Linked DNA regions of Homo sapiens: region 2 is linked to region 1. Evidence: promoter capture Hi-C in human tissues and cell types (Jung and others, 2019). All regions are on one chromosome and are shown on one strand. Each heading gives the region's core, a stretch centred on a gene start or on the middle of the fragment in contact. The rest is flanking DNA. Distances are from core to core; before and after follow the strand shown.

Evidence for each region. Contacts are between HindIII fragments. The study calls those that stand out against the background at their distance.
Region 2: a fragment that was not itself captured here is called in contact with the fragment with the promoter of HKDC1 in region 1 in 2 of the 25 tissues and cell types used here (IMR-90 fibroblasts and aorta).

Annotation. Positions count from the first base shown.
Region 1 is chr10:69,219,011-69,226,841 of GRCh38, forward strand. It overlaps HKDC1 (hexokinase domain containing 1), which reads left to right and starts at 1,322. Exons shown (of 18, transcript NM_025130.4): 1 at 1,322-1,488. The coding sequence starts at 1,426. LOC101928994 (a long non-coding RNA gene) reads right to left here. Exons shown (of 5, transcript NR_120648.1): 2 at 6,812-6,976; 3 at 4,157-4,215; 4 at 3,867-4,015. RefSeq lists an enhancer at 5,408-5,577 and a cis regulatory region at 5,493. The HindIII fragment of the contact is 7,476 bases long and covers 1-4,446 here.
Region 2 is chr10:69,137,846-69,144,841 of GRCh38, forward strand. All of the region lies in intron 2 of VPS26A (VPS26 retromer complex component A), which reads left to right. Among named protein-coding and RNA genes, the nearest start is that of VPS26A, 17 kb to the left of the region's middle. The HindIII fragment of the contact is 3,189 bases long and covers 3,082-6,270 here.

The sequences.
Region 1 (7,831 bases), core at 72-2,571:
GGGAGGATCACCTGAGCCCAGAAGGCTGATGTTGCAGCGAGTCATGATTCCACGACTGCATTCCAGCCTGGGGGATGAATGAGACCCTGTCTAAAAAATAATAATAACAAGAGTAATAAAAACAAAATGGGATTGGTAAATGCTCCATCCATGTTAGCCGCTGTTGTTAACGCTGTTGTTATTGGTTTCATTAGCCAGCCAGTGACTGTGGGAAGAGTGCAAGGTTGATTGTACCCATGTATTGGGTGCTTTCTGGGTCCTTCTCATGTCAAGTATGATGAGTGAGAAGTGAGTGAATAAAACATCTCAGTGGCCTGAGACATTTCTCTTTTTTTTCTTTTTTTGAGATGGAGTTTTGCTCTTGTCACCCAGGCTGGAGTGCAATGGCGCGATCTCGGCTCACTGCAACCTCTGCCTCCCAGGTTCAAGTGATTCTCCTGCCTCAGCCTCCCAAGTAGCTGGGATTACAGGCACCTGCCACCACTCCTGGCTAAGTTTTTTGTATTTTTAGTAGAGATGGGGTTTCACCATGTTGGCCAGGCTGGTCTCGAACTCCTGACCTCATGATCTGCCTGCCTCGGCCTCCCCAAGTGCTGCGATTGTTACAGGCGTGAGTCACTGCACCCGGCTGGACTGAGACATTTCTTATCTGTGACTTCCTTCTCTCCAGCAGTGATTCCCAGTGAGCACTGGTGACTTCAGTTCACTCTTTCTCAGGAATATTTTTTCCTGGGTCACTACCTGTGAACTAAAGATTTTCTGGCTTAACACTGTGAATAGGTAAACATTTATTGATCATTTTCTGTTAACCATGGGCTATTAGTTAAGAGATCTGATCTGTCACAAATGGAAGAATCTGCCCCAACATTCTTGAAATCCCATTGACCAGGACAATGTTTAGTTTTAGTTAGTTCAGTGCTTCTGAGGAGCAGGGGGTCACAGAGTTATGCCACTGGCATAAAAAACTAAAGAGAAAAGCCTGGGACTGGAAATTTGCAGAGCAGCTCCACCGGTTGAAAGTTGGCTTTGTTTAGTGCCCAACTTCGCAGAAGATTTTCCTCGGCTGAGTGGGCTTGGCAGAGCCCCGGCTTGAGAGGGTTGCTTAGCAATGAGATTTGGTGGCACCCAATTCTCAAGTAGTCAAGCAACCCATCAATACCCTGCTTCCCCCTCCACTAAACCTCAGCTACCATCCAGAGCCTCCTATTAGACAATCAAGTGTGTGCCAGAGGGAGGGACCAAAGGGGTGGGGTGGGGGGGAGTTTAATCATTGAACCAAGCAGGCTGGAGGTATTTAGTCCGCAACACCTCGCTCCCCAGGAGGTCTGCCAGCCTGGACTGGAAGCGTGCAACACTCCAGAGTCGTAGGAGTGAACACTGCACAGGAATCTCTGCCCATCTCAGGAGAAACCAAACTTGGGGAAAATGTTTGCGGTCCACTTGATGGCATTTTACTTCAGCAAGCTGAAGGAGGACCAGATCAAGAAGGTAAGGAGGACCCACGAAGCTGAGAGATGCCCAGCTCCTTCTTCACGGACAAAACTGATTCCCTTAAAAAAAAAATCAGAAGGGAGTGAAGAGAGCTTATTAGAAAAGATACTGGGAGCATATGACCAGTAAAAGACTCACTGAGGGAAGAGGGAGTAATTCTCCCACACTCCTGGGCATTGCATTACTGTCCTGAACCTTACACTTCACTCGGAACTTCCTGGCAGGTATTGGATGCGGAAGCGGGTGAGGAGGGTGTTTGGAAAGCTTGAAGAGGATTGTGTTTGCTGTAAGGGATGTTTGCTCGGAAAGGCCACAAAGGCGAGGAGAATCATTTTCAAAGAAGTTTTAAGAACTGTTGGAGCAGAAGGCTGGGCGCAGTGGCTCACGCCTGTAATCCTAGCACTTTAGGAGGCCGAGGTGGGCGGATTACCTGAGGTCAGGAGTTCGAGACCAGCCTGGCCAACATGGTGAAACCCCGTCTCAACTAAAAATACAAAAATTAGCTGGGTGTGGTGGCGGGCACCTGTAATCCCATCTACTCGGGAGGCTGAGGCAGGAGAATCGCTTGAACCCAGGTGGTGGAGGTTGCAGTGAGCCGAGATCGCGCCATTGCACTCCAGCCTAGGGGACAAGAGTGAGACTTCATCTAAAAAAAAAGAACTGTTGGGGCAGATCTGTTTGTTCATGTATTTGAAAGCATATAAATGTGGGCAGCAAGAAGGTGTGAGTTGCAATAGACAGTAATTGAAATATCTATTATTGGCACCTGCTATTTGCCAATGGTACACTATTCATGGTGTGCATTATTTTGTCACTTTGCTCAGGGAACTTGTCTACAAAATTCATTCCAAAGTGGGCTGGTTAAAGGTTGCCAAGGGTCAACAGGAGGGAACCAGGGTTCTTTCCAGGCAGCTAAAATGAGCCCAGTCTGCTACTCTGGCCACACCGGCTGGCTGTCACGGCCCTGGGCAAAAAGCATCTCTCAAAGTGCAGATGACAGAAGTCCTCCTAGCAGGAGGACTTAGCCAAGGTCACCAAGTATTTAGGATGGAATGAGGATTAAATCCAAGTTGGCTGACTCTTCCTTCAATGCTTTCTGCTGTGCCATGACTCCCTCCTGCTTTACAAAATGAATAAGGAGGCCAGGCACCGTGGCTCACGGCTGTAATCTGCATACACTGGGAGGCTGAGATGAGCAGATCTCATCTCAAACTTGAGGTCAGGAGTTTGAGACCAGCCTGGGCAACATGGAGCAACCCCATCTCTACAAAACATGTAAAAATTAGCCGGTCATGGTGGTGTGTGCCTACAGTCCCAACTACTCGGGAGGCTGCGGTGGCAGGATGGCTTGAGCCCGGGAGACTGCGCTACTGCACTCCAGCCTGGGTGACAGAGTGAGACCCTGTCTGAAAAAAAAAGGAAAGAAAAGAAAAAAAAAGGCCAAGGATGGTGGCTCATACCTATAATCCCAGCACTTTGGGAGGCCAAGGTGGGTGGATCACCTGAGGTCAGGAGGTTGAGACCACCCTGGCCAACATGGTGAAACCCCGTCTCTACTAAAAATTTAAAAATTAGCTGGGCGTGGTGGAGTGCGCCTGTAATCCCAACTACTCAGAAGGCTGAGGCAGGAGAATCCCTTGAACCCGGGCAGCAGAGGTTACAGTGAGCCGAGATCATGCCATTGTACTCCAGCCTGGGCAACAGAATGAGACTCCGTCTCAAAACAAAACAAAGAAAGAGAGAGAGGAAGTGTGGCCCCTTACAGCCCTCAGGTACTTGGTGGGATAAACTCCCACTAAATTCTATTCATTTAGAGAGTTGAGTTAGAGGTTGTAGCAAATTTAAAAACATTATAAAGCAATCACTTGTTGATTAGATTCAGAGCCCTCTACTGGCTACTTAAGGAGGCGCTGCCTAGGAATCCACTTTCTTTTGTTATCTGCTTAGTAAAGGCACAAGTTGCACCATGTCTCTCCCACCCCCAAGGGGGAGCCTTTGGAACCCTGAAACCTTTGATTCTGCAAACTTATTTCATTTCCTTGGGCTCCTTTGTGTTGGTTAACCTTTTGTACCCTAGGATCATGCGGGACATGTTTGTCCAACAGCCCTGGTGCAGGCTCAGGAGCACCCTGTGATGGGAAATGCAGCCTCTGCTGATGGGCTCCAGGTCCTTCTGGAAGGACAGTCAGCCTTTTTCAATGCCGGGAGCTGACCTCCCTCTCCCTGTGGGAGGCGAGAAAGTTGGAAGCACTTTTATAGCCACCTTAAGCAAGTGCCCCAGGAAGTCTCTGGGGTAGTGTGGGAGACTGGTTTATGGCTGCTGGGCTGAGTCATGGTTCTGAGAACACTCCTCCCAACACGTGGTGGAAACACACCTGGTCAAAAGGCACAGCTCGTTTCTCTGCGGTCAGGCAGTGAGTCCCCTTCTTCGTCTCTGTGCTTCCTGCCTCTAGAATTGTCCAGATCCTGGGCCAGCGGTGCCTGCAAGGGTTACTACTGAGACCCTGGAACAATTTCTAAAAATCTTCCCATACCAGCATGGAAACAAAAATAAAACAAAATGAAAAAAACGAAAATAGAAACCACTCTGACAGATTCTTTTCCAATTCAATATATTGACATTATTTGACCTATTGATAGCACCAGGCCAGACCTGGTCACTGACCTGCAGATTGTTCATCCACAGGAGAACTGGGAGGTTTTCAGTGTGTATTTTTCATGGCTCTGTATGTCAACATTACAAAAAAGTGGAAATGTTACTTGTAATTCCACCTTTAATTTACTTTTAATCTCAAACACTTTCATATTTGCTGGGTGGAAGCCTTCCTAGTTTTTCTTCATCCTGTATGTTTTTAGTTATGTTTATAAGGTACATACAGTTCTGAACTGCTTCCCTCACTTACTGTTACAGTGTAACCACTTACATAGATTTCTTCATTATCATCATAATTATCATTACAATGTCTTCTTAATATCCAATCAAGTGGATATGCCATAATGTAGTTAACCTTTTCCTCTTGTTGGACATTTGGATACTTTCGAATATCCAGAGTTGTGTAACCATTACCACAATCTAATTTTTTTTTTTTTTTTTTTTTTTTTGAGACGAAGTCTTGCTCTGTCTCCCAGGCTGGAGTGCAGTGGTGCGATCTTGGCTCACTGCAACCTCCGCCTCCAGGGCTCAAGCGATTCTCCTGCCTCAGCCTCCTGAGTAGCTGGGATCACAGGCCGCACCACCACGCCCAGCTAATTTTTGTATTTTTAGTAGAGACAGGGTTTCGCTGTGTTGGTCAGGCTGGTCTCGAACTCCTGACCTCGGGATCCGCCCGCCTCGGCCTCCCAAAGTGCTGGGATTACAGGCATGAGCCACCATGCCTGGCCTCATTTGGATACTTTCAAAAACATTTTTAATAATTAAAATATTAGGCTGGATGAAGTGGCTCATGCCTGTAATCCCAGCACTTTGGGAGGCTGAGGCGGGATGATCACTTGCCTCCAGGAGCTCGAGACCAGCCTGGATAACATAGAGAGATCTGTCTCTACAAAAAATGCAAAAATTAGCTGGGCATGGTGGCACATGCCTGTAGTCCCAGGTACTTGGGAGGCTGAGGTGGCAGGATCACTGGAGCCCGGGAGGTTGAGGTTGCAGTGAGCTGTGATTGCACCATTGCACTCCAGGCTGGGCAACAGAGCAAGACCCTGTCTCAAAAATAAAATAAATAAAATAAAAGTATTGTTATGTTAAACCTTGGTAGAGTTTTAGTTTTATTTTTATTTATTTATTTTTTATTATTATTTTTAAGATGGAATCTCGCTCTGTCACCCAGGCTGGAGTGCAGTGGCGCGATCTCGGCTCACTGCCAGCTCTGCCTCCTGGGTTCATGCCATTCTCCTGCCTCAGCCTCCGAAGTAGCTGGGACTACAGGCGCCCGCCACCACGCCTGGCTAATTTTTGTATTTTTAGTAGAGACATGGTTTCACCAGCTTGGCCAGGCTGGTCTCGAACTCTGACCTCAGGTGATCCACCCGCCTCGGCCTCCCAAAGTGCTGGGATTACAGGCGTGAGCCACTGCGCCCGGCCTTGGTAGAGATTTATGGTTCTCCATAGTCAGGATTATTTCCTGAGAATAGGTTCTGGAAATGAAAGCCCTGGGTCAAAGAGCGGAATTTTTTATGACTCTCATTCCTAATGTGAGACCTTTGGACTAGACGAGCTCTAAGGCCCCTCCAGCTCCCACCTTCTGCAATTCAGTCTTGAGTCTTGAATGTTGGATTTGCTCTTTCTAAGTGAAACGGGCTGCTGGTTGGCTTTCTTGCTTAGACGATATCTCCCATGATGGTTTGTGTGTCTCTCCAAAAGTGGGCTTGGTTTTCTGCAGCACCAGTACTCTCCCTTAGTGCCTGGGACGTGTGTCCCTGGTTACACATACCCCACATGACTTGTTTGGATTGAAAATAGGTGCTTTTTGTCCCAACATATGTTTCACTTTTCCCTTCTAACAACTGTTCCTGGTGCTGTGGCAGATACAGAAGATCAAAAGGAAACTGTTGCTGAGTTGACATTCTTTCTGTCATAACCTCAACTTATTGAAAGAGCAGCAGCAAACCAAGTGCTCAATGACCCCATTAAACCCCAGTCGCAAATGACCCCAACTGGGTCTCAAAAAACAGGACTTACATGGCAGGGATAACATTGTGTGGATGCCTGGAGTTTTTTATACTCTCAGGCTAAGCAAAAATGATCAGTAGGTTCAGGGGCACTGTCTGAGAGCCCTTTGGGTAGGAAAGAATCAAGTTTGGTTCCCACATACAGCATCCCACCCTTCCCCAACCCCAATTACTTGGGTCACGTCCTTTGCATCCAGTTTTCTCGGCTTGTGTGTGGCTGTGCCAACCAATTAGTCATAAACAGCCTTGGGGGAACAGGAAGCCCTTAATGAAGCCTGACCTGGTTCCATCCTGTTTCTCAAATATGCTGAAAGCTCAATTGTCCTTTTTTGCTAATGGCTGTCTGATGATTTTCTGGTCTTTCTCTGGCCCCCGAGTCCCCGGAGCCATGGTACCATTTCAGTGTCTTGGGTCTGTTCGTTGTCACGAGACTGAGCTGGGTCCTGGCCTCTGAGGCCTGGCTGATGACCGGGCCCCTGTCCTAGCGCGAAGGTAATGTGAGCCCTGTGCATTTGGTATAATTTGTCTGTCGGGCTTATGCATCCCCGACAGAGCTGTGAGCCAAAGCCAGGCCATGGGGGTGAGTGATCTAGAGCCTATGTTACAGTCCCACGTAGCCACAGCTCTGCAGCCCTCTCACCTCACCTCTCACCTGGGGACAAGAACTTTGGCCTTACGTGGCTGCCTCAAAGGGATGCTGTGGCGATGAGAAGAGGTGACGTACGTGGACGCACTCTGTAGACAGTAGCACGTGTTCTTCACCCTGGATAAAATGCCCTTTCACCGGGAATGTGCCTGGGATGGAGCCTCCTGTCACCTGGAGGGTGGAGAGTGCTCAGTATAAAAACAGGGCTGGAAAGGACAGGGTGCATATGCCCCTGTCTCTCCTCCTGCCCCCATCAATAATCCATCCCAGTGAGCCCGGGCTCCAGACTGCCAGCACCAATTGATTAGTGTTAATTAGTGTGAGGGAGGAAGCTTTGCTGCCGTCCCTGATGTGACATATTACCAACAAGAGGACTGATTTTAGCCATAGTGATTTGTATAACTTCCCTCCTTTGGGTATGGTCCTCTGTCCCCGTTTCCTGGTTACATGAGTGACATCCACTCATTTTCAATAGCAATCTGAGCTGACTTTAAAAATTCAGCTTTGTCTTAACTAGAACAACTCAGTTAAACCAAAATGGACATTTATGGCTGGGTGAGGTGGCTCACGCCTGTAATCCCAGCACTTTGGGAGGCCGAGGCGTGTGGATCACTTGAGGTCTGGAGTTCAAGAACAGCCTGGCCAACATGGCGAAACCCCATCTCTACTAAAAATAAAAATAAAAAAAAATTAGTCGGGCCTGGTGGCACCTGCCTGTAATACTAGCTACTCAGAAGGCTGAGGCAGGAGGATGGCTTGAACCTGGGAGGTGGAGGCTGCAGTGAGCCGAGATCTCATCACTGCACTCCAGCCTGGGCGACAGAGTGAGACTCTGTCTTAAAAAAAAAAAGGAGGGAAATTTAAAGGGCTAGATTTAGGCATTGCTTTTGGAAATGAAATTTAGCTCTGAGCTTCCTAGCAGCCAGTAAACAAAGAGAAACCTGTCTAGCTATATCTGTGGTCATCATTGGATGAAAGAAAGCTTCCATGTTTAGAAATCTACGATTCAAGCTCTAGCTGGCCTTT
Region 2 (6,996 bases), core at 3,426-5,925, 78 kb before region 1:
TTTTAAGCTGTATTGAGATATATATATATATATATATTCGCCATAAAAATTCACCCATTTTAAGTGTGCTTAAAATTTTTAGTAAATTTAGAGTTGTACAACTATCACCACTAATTCCAGAACATTTTCATTACTCCAGAAATTTTTAAAAATGCTGTACCATTAGCAGTCATTCTCCATTTCCCCTCCTTCCAGTCTCTGACAACCCCTGATCTCTGTTTCTATGAATTTGCCTATTCTGGACATTTCATATAAATGGAATTATACAATGTGTGGTCTTTTCCTATTTTGTTTCTTTCACTTAGTATAATGTATTTGAGATTCATCAATATTGTAGCATTTGTTATTAGTATATCATTGTTTTTTATTGATGAATAGTATTCCATTTTATGGCTATACCACATTCTTGTTTATGCATTCACCAGTTGGTGGGTATTTGGGATGTTTCTACTTTTTTGCTGTTGTGACTAATGCTGATGTGAACATTTGTGTAGCAGTTTTGTGTGGACCTATATTTTCCTTTCTCTTGAGCATGTACCTGGGAGTGGAATTGCTGCCTTATGTTAAATATGTTTAAGTTTTTAATAAACTGCCAAAGACCTTAGGAGTTTTTGGTGGCTTTCTTGCTAACTGGTATGACAAGATGTTTAAGGGTCTTTTGTGTTTCTGCTTCATACCTGCACTCAGCCGTATCTTTCAAGGCCATAGTTGCATGCAAAGATTGCTCATTGCTACAGTGTTGGACATTATTTCTAGGCTGCTCAGTGGATAGATGGGGAGAGTTTTTAAATATAGATTTAATAAATTTATTTTTATTTGTGTATATTGTTTAAGATAAAATACTTCAGGAATCATATTGTCATTTCCAATTCAATTTGAAAATTAGAAGTTTTTACTTAACCTCTTATGTTACATGTATATCTCCTTTCTTCTGCATCAAGAATACTGATTTTCAGAGTCAAAGGAAGATGTAATTAGCATATCCCATAATTTACTCAATATCTTTACCCCACATTATATACATAATAGTCTCAGAATAACAATACTAACATTACCACTATCAATATGATTATGAAGTTAGTTAAAAAAAATTTAGCATTTGCTATTTGTTTTACTCACATTTCTTAAATGTACCATAGTAAGTACATTGTCAGAGTGTATAGTAATTATATACTTTATGTGCTTCCTTTCGCCCTCACTTAGTCTTGGTTTTATAAATAACTGTTCATATAGTGTGCACCACCAGTCCTTATATCTTTGTCTCTTTATTTGTTTCATTGTCTGAAGCTTATTCTCTAGTTACTAGAGTCTAATAGATTCCTCAGGAAATGCTCATGGGAACAATAAGGCCTAAGTTTTTGCATATTGGTAATGGCTTTTTTGTGTCCTTTACACTTAAAAGTTAGTTTTTCTGAATAATCTTGGCTTACATTTTTTTGAGTTATTTTATTTATTTTCTATTTATTTATTATTTTTGAGATGGAGTCTTGCTCTGTCACCCAGGCTGGAGTGCGGTGGCATAATCTCGGCTCACTGCAACCTCTGCCTCCTAGGTTCAAGCGATTCTCCTGCCTCAGCCTCCCAAGTAGCTGGGACTACAGGTGCCCACCACCATGTCTGGCTAGTTTTTAAATTTTTAGTAGAGATGGGGTTTCACCATATTGGCCAGGCTGGTCTCAAACTCCTGACCTTGTGATCCGCCTGCCTTGGCCTCCCAAAGTGCTGGGATTACAGATATGATCCATCGTGCCCGGCCTTCTTGAGTGTTTTAAATCTATTATTACTGCATTGTCTTCTGGCATAGGGTATTGTTAACAGTTTTTTCATTTGAGGAAAGTTTTCTTGAATTACAGCCATTATTAATTAGTATTTATTCCATTCCTTTGCTTTGGTTTTCTTCTTGATATCAGTATTTTTGAGTCTTGTTTGAGTGTGGTTTTTTGCTCTTGTATTCCTTCTGCTTATCCTTTATTTCTAAAATGATTTTTACTTCTATTTCTAATTCTTTTCTGATTTTTCTCACCCTAGCTTAAGATTTTCTTTCATGTATTGTATCATTTTCTTAATATCGTATAGCCTGTTTTGAAATAAATTACAGTTTTGATCTATCTTGTCTGTAGAAATGCCATTCTGTTCCTTCTCTTTTTTTCTTAAAATAACTTTGTATGGGATTTGACCTTGATATATTTATGTTGCTAATTTTTATGTGAAATTAGTTTTCCCCAATGTTTTTTTTTTTTGAGATAAGATCTTGCTCTGTTGCCCAGGCTGGAATGCAGTGGCATGACTATGGCTCACTGCAGCCTTGACCTCCAAGGCCCAAGCGATCCTCCTACCTCAGCCTTCCGAGTAGCTGGGACCACAGGCATGTGCCACTGTGCCTAGCTAATTAAAAAATATATATTTTTTGTAGAGACAGGGTCTTGCTATGTTGCTCAGGCTGGTCTCAAACTCCTGAGCTCAAGTGATCCTCCCATCCTGGCCTCCCAAAGTGCTGAGATGTGAGCCACTGCACCCGACCTTCTCCTGAACTTTTTGTCTTTTCGTGATAGAGTCTCACTCTGTCACCCATGTTGGAGTGCAGTGGCACGATTTCAGCTCACTGCAACCTCCGTCTCCCAGGCTAAAGCGATCTTCCCATCTCTGCCTCCTGAGCAGCTAGGACCACAGGGCACACTACCACGCCCAATTATTATTATTATTATTTTTGGTATTTTGGGGTAGATACGGGGTTTCACCGTGTTGCCCAGGCTGGTTTCGAGCTCCTGAGCTCAGGCGATCCACCTGTCTCAGCCTCCCAAAGTGCTGGGATTACAGGTGTGAACCACTGTGCCTGGCCCTTCCTGAACTTTTGATGGTTTGGTTTAGGATAGTTTTTCTAACCACCTATCCTAGACAGCAGGCCTGACTGGTCAGTTTTGAGTGTTCTAATATTATTGGATTGTGCAAAACTCCTTCCAGCGTTAGCTCTTATTCTCAGATTGACACCATGCTTTCCAGTGAATATATATGAGTAATTTGGGAGTTCTTAGGTCCATCAGACACTCCATTGCATTCTTTGATTCCTCCTGCACAACCCTAGTATCATGCAGGTTTTGTGGCTATTAACCTGGTTTGTCCCTACGCATTATGTTTTGGGATTGTGGGAATACTTTATCTTTTTCTGTGGTAAATTGGATCCTTAGATTTTTTTGGTTTTGCTGTCTAGTTGGTCCATCTGTTTTTATGTGACGATCTGGGGAGATTCAAAGACTATGTTGCCATCTTCCCAGAAATTGATCTGAGATTCTAAAAGGCCATGTGTAACCATTCTGGCAGTTTAGCAATATGTATCAAAATCTTCAAAAGTGGATATCATTTATAGTAGCCAGAATAGTCTGGATTATTACTATGTAAGAGACAACCCCAAAACTCAGTGACTTAAAAACAACAGTGGCAGTGGCTTCTTTCTTGCCCAGGCAACATGTTCCTTGTGAGTTAGCTGAGGGCCTTATTCTGTGCCATGCTCAGTGATGGAGCAGCCAGGAACATCACACTCATCATGGCTGAGGGAGAGAAATCTCTGCAGAGTCTTTCACAAGCCATTAAAATGCCCCATCCTAGAAGTAACAAAGAGCATTTCTGATCAAATTTATTGTCTCTAGAAACAGTCTTGTTCGTACCTCACCCAGCCACAAGAGGGTAGGGAATACAATCATACCATGCACTCAGAATGTATGCAGCTGGAAATATTTGAGCAGTGCCTGTATTGATTAATATTATTTTGATCCACAGATTCTTCTGATCAGATTTTATCCTAAAATAATCAACTTTGTTCATTTCACTGTTTATAATATTCAAAAATTGAAAGCCACTTAAATGTCCAGACATTAAAAAACCTAATTATGGTAATAACCATTAAGTGCTTAGGGCCATTATTAATGTGATTATATTGATCTGTATTCATTCACATGAAAAGAGGTTTGCTATAATAACAATATTTACTGAGTACTCACCATGACCCAGGTATTCCTTCTGAAGTTCTTCATAATGATACAATGATTCCTCTTTTTTTTTTGAGATGCAGTCTTGCTCTGTTGCCAGCCTGGAGTGCCGTGGCGCGATCTTGGCTCACTGCAACCTCTGCCTCCCGGGTTCAAGTGATTCTCCTGCCTCAGCCTCCCGAGTAGCTGGGATTACAGGCGCATGCCACCACGCCCGGCTAATTTTTTGTATTTTTAGTAGAGACGGGGTTTCACCATGTTGGCCAGGATGGTCTCAATCTCTTGACCTCATGATCTGCCTGCCTCAGCCTCCCAAAGTGCTGGGATTATAGGCGTGAGCCACCATACCAGGCCTTTTTTTTTTTTTTTTTTTTTGAGGTGGGGTCTCACTGTGTTGCCCAGGCTGAGTGTAGTGTCATGATTACGGCTCACTGCAGCCTCATCCCCCTGGGGGCCCAAGTAATCCTCCTACCTCAGCCTCCCAAGTAGCTGGGACCGCAGACATATGAACCACCCTGCCTGGCTAATTAAAAAAATTTTTTTTTTTTATAGATAGGGTCTTGTTGTGTTGCCCAGTCTGGTCTCAAACTCCTGGACTCAAGTGATTCCCCAACCTTGACCTCCCAAAGTGCTGGGATTATAGGCATGAGCCACTGTGCCTGGCCAAGGATTATTTGAAAGATTATCTTGTGTTCAGTAAAATTAGGATAACTAAAGAAAATGAAAAAAGTGGTATAGATTTGTAATAACCTCAGAAAGACTATCTTGACAACGAGCTTGAGGCTTTTAAAGCTAAGAAAGACATTTTAAACCTCATATTTAGAATAAGATGAATAAGAAAATAATATGCTCATTTGGCACACTTATTTTAATATAACAAATGCAAAAGAAAGCTTTCCCCCCACTATTCAAAAAAAAAAAAAAGATTTAAATTGGGAAAGGTAGGATCATTAAAAATTAAAACAGAATGAAAGCTTTGTTATGGTTAAGAAGATTAAAAATAAACTAACTAGTTTTCAAACATCCTGGTGACCATACCAGACAAATGCTATGCGATAATACTGAAAGAATTTTGCAGAACTGGTCACCAAATCTCTGCTAGGAGTCCTTTAGTAATTGTGGAAAATGAGAGAGGTTCTAGAATATAAGAAAAGCCCTTATTTATAAAATGGGGTAGAAAGTTTGTTTCAGGTAAACTTAATATTGGTTCCTGACATATCTTTAGATTATTAAATAGGTGATCAGTGAACATGCTGAAAAGAAAGCTTAAAGGAAAAAGAGGAGGAAACAACGGGTTGTTTACGACCAAGCATGTGTCACTAAGAACAAATCTTGCCACACCAATCTAGGGTTTGTGAAATGTCCTGGTGTAATAAAAAGATCACTGGGCTAGCACTGGAAGATCTAGCCTTAACTTTACCGCTGTCTTGGTAGGTAACTCTGGACAGTCATTTAATTTCCTGGATCTCACCTATAAGTTTAGGAGGTTAGACTGCCTCATTGGTTTCCAAACTTGGCTTTGCACTGTAGGATGCTCTGCATGAAAATCTTTCATATATTAGATATTATGTTGGATCTTGGAGGTCTGACATCTCGCCCACAGCAAGAATAAATTCCTTTTTAATATTCCTGACGTGAGTTTCTGTATGCCTACTTTTCAGAGTGTGGGGATTCTGCTGTTCTGTTAACAGTATCCACTCTGCTTTTTAGAGATACGCAAAATAAATCTAATCCTTTTCTAAGTAAGAGTTCTCTCTAAGCATTTTCCACATCACTGTCTTGTTTATCCTGTCTTCTCTAAGCTAAATATGCTATTTCCTTTAGTTATTGTTCAAGAACCCTGGGTTTTGAGTCTTTATCACCCAGATTGCTTTCTTTTAGTTTTCAAATTAAATTTAATTTTTTTGAGACAGGGTCTTGCTGTGTCACCCAGGCTGGAGTGTAGTGATGTGGTCATGGCTCATTGTAGCCTTGACCTCTCAAGCTCAGGCGATCCTCTCACCTCAGCCTCCCAAGTAGCTCAGACAACAGGCACACACCACCATGCTCAGCTAATATTTTACTATTTTTGTAGAGTTGGGGTCTCCCCATGTTTCCCAGGCTAATCTCAAACTTCTGGGCTCAAGTGATCCTCCTGCCTCTGCCTTCCAAAGTGCTGGAATGACAGGTGTGAGGCACTGTGTCCAGCCTCAGATTCTTACATAACTATATAGAAAACTGGTTTGCATTATCTGTATCCAGCAGTTCTACTCCTAGATACATACTCAAGAGCTCTTTTAAGAGCAATTCTAGATTTTCAGAAAAATTGAGCAGAAAGTAGAGTTCTGTGTACTCCCTTCTTCCTCACCCCAGCCCCACATGGATTCACTGTTACTAATCTTGCATTAGAGTGATACATTTGTTAAAATTGTTGAACCATTATTACCACATTATTATTAACTAAAGTCCATAGTTTACATTAGGGTTTACTCTGTTGTACATTTTCTGGGTTTTGATAAATGCATAATGTCATGTATCCATCATTGTGATATCATATAGAATAGTTTAACCACCCTAAAAATTCCCTGTGTTTCATTCACCTAGTCATGCCGCTCTGGCACCTGCGCTACCACCACCATCCACACAGTCTTCGGCAACTACTCATCTTTTTACTGTCTATAATTTTGTCTTTTCTAGAATGTCATGTAGTTGGAATCATATAGAATGTAGCCTTTTTAGATTGGTTTATTTCATTTAGCAATATTCTTTTAAGGTTTCTCCATATATCTTTGTGACTTGATTGCTCATTTATTTTTAGTGCCAAATCATATTCCATTGTATGGATGTACCAATGTTTGTTTATCCGTTTACCTACTATCTTGGTTGGTTCCAAGTTTTGCTCATTTTTCTATCTAGTTGACTCTTTTTCTCTTATTGATGTGTAGGATTTTTTGTATGTTCTTGATAAAGGTGTTTTATATATCTAGATATGGAGTCCTTTGTCTATGTATGTATCATAAATATCTTCTCCTAA